Linked DNA regions of Homo sapiens: region 2 is linked to region 1. Evidence: promoter capture Hi-C in human tissues and cell types (Jung and others, 2019). All regions are on one chromosome and are shown on one strand. The core of a region is centred on a gene start or on the middle of the fragment in contact, and the rest is flanking DNA. Distances in the headings are between cores, read along the strand shown. Region 1 holds the start of GFRA4 (GDNF family receptor alpha 4). Region 2 overlaps SMOX (spermine oxidase).

Region 1 (5,383 bases), core at 1,409-3,908:
CCGGCCGCGCGTACCCACGAGGCCCGCGTAGGCGCGCAGGCAGCGGGCGCCCTGGTCCAGCAGGCAGCCGTCGGGGGCGCTGGGCGCTGGGGTGCACGAGACCTGAAAGGCCAGGAGGCGAGGCCTGCGCGGCGGGAGGGCGGTGAGCCGGAGAGAGGCCCCGTCCCCACCCTCGCCACGGCCCCGCCGCCGCCCGCGCGCACCTGCAGACCCGGCTGCGCTCGCAGAAGTTTAAGGGCTCAAGGCAGGAGGGCGGCGCGGGGCCGGGCCCCGAAAAGGCGCAGGAGGGCACGAAGGTCTGGCGCCGACGCTCGGCGCACGCGGGGCCCGCGCACGGGCAGAAGAGCAGTGCGTGGGTGAGCGCGGGCGGCCCGCGGGCGAAGAAGCGGCGCAGGGCCCGGCGGCAGCGGGCGCGGGGACAGCCCCCCTGCGCAGCCCGGCCCAGGCACTGCGCCACATACTCGGAGCGCAAACGCTGGCACCGCGCGTCCGCCGTGCAGGCTTCGGCCGCGTCCACACATCGGTTCCCTCCGACCGAGCTCGCCGACCCTGGGAAAGGCGCGGGGAGGCTGCAGGTCTCAGTGCGCCCCGCATGCACACTTCACCCAGCCCATCCACGCCCCTGGAAGGTGGGGGACACTGAAAACCCGAGAAAGCATAGAGTGTGGCCCAAAGGCGGGGCCGACTGGCACTGATCGGCTCTCCGTCGTGGGGATGGGCAGCGGCGGGCTCTGGAGGGCTCTGCAACACGTCAGGGATGGAGAGGGAGCATGGAGGCTGAGCCAGGCCTTCCCCAAAAGCTGAAGCCCCTCCTTCCCAAGCATCGCCACCATTTCTCCAGAACGGCCACACACGTCCAAAGACGGGTCCAGGGGCTCCTCCTACACTCAATGGCACTACCTGACGGGGGAACAATGAGGCTTTCTGGGGATCTGGCCAATGGAGACTTTAAAACCAGAGATGGCATAGAAGACAGTGGCTGCTCCTAGTCTCTTAATGACAGGCTGTGACGCCATACCTTTCCTCCTCTACCCCCTCCACCTCGCCGCTTATCCTCCACCATGGAGACCCTTTGGGTGGGTCTATTGATTTCTGTTTCTCCCTCCTTCCTGACCTCCTGCTCCTCCTCCTGCCCCCTGCATGGGTGTCTCCCCTCTCCAGCCCTTCCTGATGCTCCCTTGAGTCGAGGTCATCCTGCCCCATCTGCACTGGCTTCCTCCAGCCCCTCCACCCTTCATCAGCCAGGGGAGAGCGGATTCATGCAAGAGCTCTGGCCACTGAAGAACCCACTGAGTCCTGGCTGCCAGGGTGTGGATTCAGAGAAGTCCCTGACGACACACCGCCGGGCTTTGTCCTGAGCCACAGGACCCAAGGGTTCATCAGTGGTTTTAGTGACCAGGCCCCATGATAGGTGACACCCTGCTGGAGACAGAGAAGGTGCCTGGCACCCCAGTCACACACCAGGGGTTGGGTAGACAGAGGGTGAGCTCTGCCCACATGCCCACAGGCTGTGTCTAAATAGAGCCAGGATAACTGGAAGTTGGGACTTGGCAGCCCCTTCCCAGGATTTGAGTCACAAAAACCAGGCTAATCGAATCCCCCCCAGCCTCCACAAGTTCTCCAGTCTGGAGCATCTCATTCAGACTAGAAGCCTTTCTGGTGCCCAGCCTGAGTGGACGTGCACAGCCTGGCCCCTCATCCATCTCCCTGTGTGTTTGTGCACAGGGGCTACGGGGTGGTATCCCCCCCCCAGGGCTGGGAGCAGGGTGCCTCTCTGGCAATGGCTGTGTCTTTCAGGCTGTGGATTGGACCGCGTGGTGAGAGTGATTCCTGCTGTGACTTCAGCACCTGCCTCTGCAGGAAGGATGAACATAGCTCGAGGGCTTAGAATGGTCCCTGAGTGGAGGGGATAGATGGCAGCGGGGTGAGTCCTCCCTTCCTCCCCTCCCCAAAGGGCACACTTTGCTTTCCTCTCACAGCCTTGCCAGGCACATCCTCAGGTCTCAGCTGCACACACCAGCACCTGATGTTGCCTAAGGGTTTGAACCCACCTCTGCCTGTTGCTTACCTGTCACCCTTGCCCAGAACACCCTTACCCAGTCTCCACCCTCACAGCAGCTCATCTCAGCTGCAAGATCTCCTCCACCTTAAACCTTTACCAGATTCCACTTTCCACACTACACTCGGTAAAGTGACCCCTCCCTCCGCGACATCCATGCAGGGACGGAGCAGTCCAAGAAGGTGGAACAACAGATGAACAACACCGAAGATTCACCAAGGAATCTGTGTGATGGGTAGGAGGGCTGGGGCTGAGGGGAGGGTGAGAGAGTTGGGAGATGGCAGACAATAGGCAAAAGTTCCTGGGGCACGGGTGCCAAGGCTGGACTCGGGAGGGGGATGGCGGTGGTGGCTTGACGGGGCTGGGAGGTGAGGTGCTCAGCACATAGTGGGGTCAATTGCCAGGGGTCCCCAAGCCGTGCGCACAGGCCTCTCACTGGCAACCCTTCCTGTGGTTCAGCTTTTCCTGGAATATCTTGCCCTCCCACCTTGTCACTGAGGAGCAGGGACAGAGAGGCCAGGGTTCGGGGTCCAGGGGAAGAGAGGGGCGCTCACCCAGTAACAGCAGCAGCAGCAGCGCAGGCCCCAGGCAGCGGACCATGCTGGACCTTCAACAGAGAAGGATGGCTGGCAGAGCCCTAGTCTGATAGGCGCCCCCTTCCTAGTGCCTCTGGAGCAGGAGCACAGTGAAAACCCAGCTGTCTGCGCTGATACCCCTGGGAGGAGCCTTTGCTGCAGCAACTCCCCGCCCTCATTAAGTCTCCACCCCAGGCTGCACCGTCAGGTAAACCTGGGAGCCACGGGATTCGGCGCCTGAATGTGCCTAGACGGACCCCAACACACTAGCCCTGCCACGCACACCCAGCAACACACAGACAACCACCCAGGGAGACCTGGTCTCTCCCATGCTAAACTAGGAACGCTATGAAACAGCATTTTTCTTTTCCTTTTTTATATAATTCTATTTTAAACTTAAAAAAATTTTTTTGAATAGAGTTGGGGTCTCGCTCTATTGCGCAGGCTGGTCTTGAACTCCTGGGCTCAAACCATCCTCCCACCTCGGCCTCTCAAAGTGCTAGGATGACAGGTGTGAGCCACCATGCCTGGCCTATTTTAAACTTCTTATTGTTGACTAATTTTAGACTTGCAGAAAAGTTGGAAAATGTAAGCATTTTCCTTACACCCTTCACCCAGCTTCCCCTGATGGTCCATCTTACTTAATCATAGTCCAATCATTACAGCTAGGAAACTAACCTTGGTACAATCCTGTTAACGAAACTGTAGACTGTTTTGCATTTCTCATTTTTCCACTAATGTCCTTTTTCTGTTCCAAGATCCATTCTAGGATCCCACATCACAGTTGTCTCCTTATTCTCCTCAATCTGGGAGTTCCTTCATCTTTCCTTATCTTTACCCTTGACACTTTTGAAGAATCCTGGCCAGTTATTTTGCAGAATGTTTCTCTTGAGTTGTCTGATGTTTTATTCTGATCAGAATGAGACACAGCATTGTTTTGACTAACCAAAAAGTTATTCTATAAGTAAATATTGAGGTTAAAAATCTCATCCAACCTGGGCAACAGAGTAAGGCCCTGTCTCAAATAAAGTCTCAACACTAAGATTTAAAAAGTGACCAGAAAAGCCCCCACTATGATTTGTCTTGACTTTTTTTTAAAAAACAAACAAACAAACAAACAAACAAACAAAAACGATGTCTTGCTCTCTCTCTCCCTCAGGCTGGAGTGCAGTGGCACGATCTTGGCTCACTGCAACCTCCGCCTCCCAGGTTCAAGCGATTCTTCTGCCTCAGCCTCCCAGGTAGCTGGGATTACAGACGCCCGCCACCATGCCCGGCTAATTTTTGTATTTTTAGTAGAGACAAGGTTTCACCATGTTGGCCAGGCTGGTCTCGAACTTCTAACCTCAAGTGACCCGCCCACCTCTGCCTCCCAAAGTGCTGGAATTACAGACGTGAGCAACTGCGCTTGGCCTCATTAGCATCTTAAATCTCCACACAGGGGTGTGTTCCTTACTATTATAAGGAGCAAAGGATCAGTTTGAGGACAGGTAAAATAAAAATGCGCTTGCTGCCTAGAGGGAGAAGTCCCTGCTGAAGATAGCTTTGCTTGAATGAGCTCAATTGCAATGCCAGTGCTGAGGCTTGTTGACTGTACGGTCACCACAGTTGCTGCTGCGCGCCTAGAACATGGTCACTTTCTTGACTACCTATCCTGTCTCAGTACATCTGTCTGTGGTTTGTGGTGGTCCATTTCCTAATTTTTTTAATGAATCAGAAGACTGTGATGTGCTTTCCGCTGTGCTAACCATGGCCGCTGAAGCAAAATGTAAACCAAGATGCCCCTGCAGTGGTTGTGCTTCACTCTACGACATCTGTTACCGGAAAGGGGTCCAGATTCAGACCCCAGGAGAGGGTTCTTGGATCTCGTGCAAGAAAGAATTTGAGACGAGTCCATAAAGTGAAAGCACATTTATTAGGAAAGTAAAAGAATAAAAGAATGGCTACTCCATAGAGAGCGCAGCCCTGAGGGCTGCTGGTTGCCCATTTTTATGGTTGTTTCTGGATGATCTGCTAAACAGGGGTGGATTGTTCATGTCTCCCCTTTTTAGACCATATATGGTAACTTCCTGATACTGCCATGGCATCTGTAACCTGTCATGGCGCTGGTGGGAGTGTAGCAGTGGGGACGACCAGAGGTCACTCTCATCACCATCTTGGTTTGGGTGGGTTTTAGCCAGCTTCTATATTGCAAGCTGATTTTTTTGTTTGTTTTGTTTTTTGAGACGGAGTCTCGCTCCAGGCTGGAGTGCAGTGACACGATCTCAGCTCACTGCAACCTCCACCTCCTGGGTTCAAGCGATTCTCCTGCCTCAGCCTCCCAAGTAGCTGGGATTACAGGCACACACCACCATGCCTGGCTAGTTTTTGTATTTTTAGTAGAGATGAGGTTTCACCTTGTTGGCCAGGCTGGTCTCGAACTTCTGACCTCAGGTGATCCGCCCACCTCAGCCTCCCAAAGTGCTGGGATTACAGGCGTGAGCTACCGCGCCTGGCCTACTGCAAACTATTTTATCAGCAAGGTCTTTATGACCTGTATCTCCTATCTCATCCTGTGACGCAGAATGCTGTAACTGTCTGGAAACGCAGCCCAGTAGGTCTCAGCCTTATTTTGCTCAGCCCCTATTCAGGATGGAGTTGCTCTGGTTCACAGGCCTCTGACACATCCTCTTGTGTTTTGGCGTGTGGGAGGAAAGAGGGGTGAGGGAAGGAAACTCAAAACCAAGCTCTGACCACACAGGGCAGGTAC
Region 2 (5,001 bases), core at 418-2,917, 520 kb after region 1:
CTCTGGTACCGCAAGATCTGCGGCTTTGATGTCCTCTACCCGCCTGAGCGCTACGGCCATGTGCTGAGCGGCTGGATCTGCGGGGAGGAGGCCCTCGTCATGGAGAAGTGTGATGACGAGGCAGTGGCCGAGATCTGCACGGAGATGCTGCGTCAGTTCACAGGTGCGCCACGTGCCCCACGACCCGCTTCCCCCACCCTGCTTCTTCCTCACCTGCCCTCCTCTGGTGGACCCATGGCAGCTCTCTCCTCCCCAGACCGTGAAGCTCGGATGCTGTGCCCCACGGGAGAGCCACTGCAGGGTGCCACATTCAGCCAAAGGCTCTTCAGTTGCTGACAGTTTAGAACTTGACACACTCAGAATTATGGGCGCTGTGTCTCTTCCCCCTTTCTAAAGGCTGATGGTAAAACACTCAGAGATCACCGCCCATTGTGCTCTGTTGCTAAGAGCTGGATTTGCCTTTTACTCTCTGAGTCTTTCAGCTCAACATTTTTCACCCACTATTCCAGGAGGACCTCACGAGAACCCCCGATATTAGGCGGGGAAACATGATTATGTGTCATGTGTTTTCAGATAGATAGGAAAAGTAAGGTGGAGCGTTTTGCCGGGGGTCACAGGAGGCGCTGAGTGGGTACACAGCTCGAGCCCCAGCCTCCCTCCTTCCTCTTCTATCCTCCGTGCCTACCCCTGGCAGTCTGGTCCTCCCGGAGCCCTGGAGGTGGGGTGGGGGGTTGTCCCTTTGGGGTCATCTTCCATATGCAGCCATTTCTTATCCTCCCTCCTCTTGGCTTTTCTGACTCTCCATCAGGGAACCCCAACATTCCAAAACCTCGGCGAATCTTGCGCTCGGCCTGGGGCAGCAACCCTTACTTCCGCGGCTCCTATTCATACACGCAGGTGGGCTCCAGCGGGGCGGATGTGGAGAAGCTGGCCAAGCCCCTGCCGTACACAGAGAGCTCAAAGACAGCGGTAAGCGGGGCGTTTGGGGTGAGGAGGGGAGTTGTGGGTGTATTTTGTATGTGTGTCCGGTCCAGGGTGAGGAGGGCTAGGGTAGTGTTCACTAAGGGGTGCTCAGGTGAGGCAGGGATGGAGTAGCTTCTGTAATGAGAGAGAACACAAGGAAAAAAGTGTGCACTTAATATCTGGAAGAAAAAATGGAATCAAATTGAAACTTAAAATGTTTTCTTGATGTTATGAAAACTGAGCTATTCCATGCTGTGCTGGCCAATACGGTAGCTATCAGCCACTTTCAATTTAAATTAATTTATTAAAAATTTAAATTAATACAGTATTTTTTTTTTCTTTTTTGAGACAGGGTCTTGCTCTGTCTACACTTCAGGCTGGGGTATAGTGGTGTGATCACAGCTCACTGCAGCCTTGACCTCCTGGGCTCAAGTGATCCTCCCACCTCAGCCTCCCAACTAGCTGGGACCACAGGCATGCCGGCACGCCACCATGTCCAGCTAATTTTTGTACTTTTTTTTTTTTTTTGGTAGAGATGGGGTTTCATCATACTGCTAGGCTGGTCTTGAACTCTTGGGCTCAAGCTGTCCTCCCGCCTCAACCTCCTGAAGTGCTAGGATTATAGGAATGAGCCACCACACTTGGCCAATACAGTAAAGTTTTTGTTCCTTGGTTGCACTAGTCACATTTCAAGTTCAACAGCCACATGTGGCTAGAGGTTACCATAGTAAAGTACATAGCGATAGGAATGTCCTATTGGACAGCACTGATTCAATGGAAATGTTTTCCCAATATATTTCAGAAAATAAAGTTTAGATTACTGATGCTCCACAATATGCCAACTGTACACTAAAAAAAAAAAATCTGAAATATATATTTATGCTCCCATAAAGTGGATTTTGAGTTTCCCCCATCAAGTAGACACACACAGTAAATGTTAAAACTCAACAGTTATATTTAAAACAATTATTTGGTATAATTGGTGAAGAAGAGTTCAGTCAACCAGCATCTACTATGCCTGCCCAACGGTGCTCAGATGGAGAGAGAAAAGGGCTGGTGTTTAAAGAGAGAGAGGTCCTCAGAAAGGCCCTTTCTGCTGCCACAGCCATCCTCCTAAAAAGCAAATCTTCTCTTTTCACTTGCATCAGTTAGGACTAGTGCATGTAGCAAAAAGCAAAGCAAAGCAAACACAACTGTGACTTAAACAAGGAAAATCAAAAGGAAATCTGGAGGCAGGCAGCAGGATCCCGTATCATTAGCACCTGGCTCTCATCTTCAAGACCATCTTGTGGTCCAAGAGGGCTGCAGAAGCTCCAGTTCTCACATCTGCATCTTAGGCTAGAAGGAAGAGGAAAGGCAGATGGCAAGAAGGGAACCCTTGGAGCTGAGTCAGCTGTGTCTCTAAGCAACAGTGCACTTTAATGCTTATTGGCCAGAACATAGACACATGACTGCACCTAGCTGCTACAGAGGCTGGGCAGTATCATTTTTATTCTGGATGGCAATGGACCCAGTTAAAAATCAGGACTTTGTTATTGAGGAGAAAGAGGAGAATGGTTGGATGTGGGAGTGGTCCCAGCTACTTGGGAGGCTGAGGTGGGAGGATCACTTGAGCCCAGGAGGTCAAGGCTGACACAGTATACAACACCCCTTTCAGTGTAACAGCCTCTGTGGGCTCCTTGGTGGTGGGATTACAGCCTCACTACTCAGGGTAGGTAGATCAGTACCAGCCTCACCTGGGAGCTAGTTAGAAATGCAGATTCTCAGCCTGGCCAACATGGCGAAACCCTGTCTCTACTAAAAATACAAAATTAGCCAGGCATGGTGGTGCACACCTGTAGTTCTAGCTACTTGGGAGGCTGAGGCATGAGAATTGCTTGAAGCTGGGAGGCGGAGGTTGCAGTGAGTTGAGATCATGCCATTGCACTCCAGCCTGGGTGACAGAGCGAGACCCTGTCTCAAAACAAAAACCAAAAAACAACAACCCCTGGCGCCCTAAACACACACACACACAAATAAATAAATAAATAAAAAGAAATGCAGATTCTCAGCCTGGCCAACATGGCGAAACCCTGTCTCTACTAAAAATACAAAATTAGCCAGGCATGGTGGTGCACACCTGTAGTTCTAGCTACTTGGGAGGCTGAGGCATGAGAATTGCTTGAAGCTGGGAGGCGGAGGTTGCAGTGAGTTGAGATCATGCCATTGCACTCCAGCCTGGGTGACAGAGCGAGACCCTGTCTCAAAACAAAAACCAAAAAACAACAACCCCTGGCGCCCTAAACACACACACACACAAATAAATAAATAAATAAAAAGAAATGCAGACTCTCAGCCCACCCCAGACCTGCTGGATTAAAAACTGCATTCTGGCCAGGGATGCAGGCTCCTGCCCATAATCCCAGCACTATGGGAGGCCGAAGTGGGAGGATGGCTTGAGCTCAGGAGTTCAAGACCAGCCTGGGCAACAAAGTAAGACCTCCATCTCAACAAAAAATTTAAAAAAAAATTAGCCAGGTGTGGTGGTGTGTGCCTGTAGTCCCAACTACTTAGGAGGCTTAGATGGGAGGATTGCTTGAGCCCAGGAAGTTGAGGCTGCAGTGGAGCTGTGATCATGTTACTGCACTCCAACTGGGGCAATAGAGTGAGACACTGTCTCAAAAATAATAAATAAAAACTGCATTTTATCAGGATCCACAGCTGGTGCCTTGCACCTTGAATTTGAGAGGAACTAGGATAAAGTCCAAATGCAAACTTGGGGTGCAAGAACTTGTACCTTGCCTAGACCTCACCTAGACAGCCTGCTTTCTCAAGGCCGAGCCCTGGCTGTACCAAAATTCTCACTGTCCCCCGAGCAAGGCCTGCTTTGGTACATTTTTGCCCCCACCTTTCCCTCTGTCTGAAATGTCCTTTGCCTGTCCGTTCACTCAGCATCTTCCGAGAACCAGTTCAAAGGTCCTGTCCTCTGGGAAGCTTTGTGGGATCCCCTGACACTGGGCCTCTTTTCTGGGCTTTCGGCGCCTTGTGCAAACACCCATTCCATCACATATGACGCTGTTTAGTAATTGGGTTTCATGTCTGGCTTCCTCACCAGCATGGAAGCTCCACAAAGCAGCAGCCTGGTCACCTTTTCTCTTCCAAGTGCCCAGAACAGCCCCTGGATGCTAACAGGGGCGCCGTAAAGGTTTGTCAAATTACCACCGACTTTATTGAGTGCTTTGTTCTTCCAGGTTCTAAGTGCTTTAGATACATGATTTCCCTTAATCCTTACAACCACCCTCCGAAGTAGGTGGTATAAACCCATTTGGAAGATGAGAAAAGCAAGGCTTAGGGAGGTTAAACCACCTGCCTCAAGTTGACAAGTAAGAGGCACAAAGAGCCTTTGAGACCACAGAGCCGGGACTCCTAATGGCCTCAAGACAGAAAGAGCCAAGGGAAGAAGCAGGGGAAAGTGGCCAGATAGGATGGGCAGCTCTTCATCCTGTGGAAGCAGCAGCACCTGCGTCTCAGAGCCTCTCTAATTTGTCATTGGGATGGGAGGTTCTGGTGGAGAGGGGTGGCCTTGTGGCCTTCTGGCCTTTGCTGCTCCTCCACCCTGACCTCCCCATCCCCGCCCCGCAGCCCATGCAGGTGCTGTTTTCCGGTGAGGCCACCCACCGCAAGTACTATTCCACCACCCACGGTGCTCTGCTGTCCGGCCAGCGTGAGGCTGCCCGCCTCATTGAGATGTACCGAGACCTCTTCCAGCAGGGGACCTGAGGGCTGTCCTCGCTGCTGAGAAGAGCCACTAACTCGTGACCTCCAGCCTGCCCCTTGCTGCCGTGTGCTCCTGCCTTCCTGATCCTCTGTAGAAAGGATTTTTATCTTCTGTAGAGCTAGCCGCCCTGACTGCCTTCAGACCTGGCCCTGTAGCTTTTCTTTTTCTCCAGGCTGGGCCGTGAGCAGGTGGGCCGTTGAGTTACCTCTGTGCTGGATCCCGTGCCCCCACTTGCCTACCCTCTGTCCTGCCTTGTTATTGTAAGTGCCTTCAATACTTTG

What was found. The method cuts DNA at HindIII sites, captures the fragments that hold promoters and counts their contacts. A contact is called where the count stands out against the background at its distance.
Region 2: a contact is called between a fragment that was not itself captured here and the fragment with the promoter of GFRA4 in region 1, in 2 of the 25 tissues and cell types used here (dorsolateral prefrontal cortex and spleen).

The regions. Positions count from the first base shown.
Region 1 is chr20:3,660,741-3,666,123 of GRCh38, forward strand. It overlaps GFRA4 (GDNF family receptor alpha 4), which reads right to left and starts at 2,659. Exons shown (of 6, transcript NM_022139.4): 1 at 2,614-2,659; 2 at 204-549; 3 at 15-124. The coding sequence starts at 2,659. RefSeq lists silencers at 35-84, 175-284. The HindIII fragment of the contact is 25,120 bases long and covers 1-5,383 here.
Region 2 is chr20:4,182,686-4,187,686 of GRCh38, forward strand. SMOX (spermine oxidase) reads left to right here. Exons shown (of 7, transcript NM_175839.3): 5 at 1-163; 6 at 809-969; 7 at 4,585-5,001. The coding sequence ends at 4,722. Among named protein-coding and RNA genes, the nearest start is that of LINC01433, 7.9 kb to the right of the region's middle. The HindIII fragment of the contact is 6,680 bases long and covers 1-5,001 here.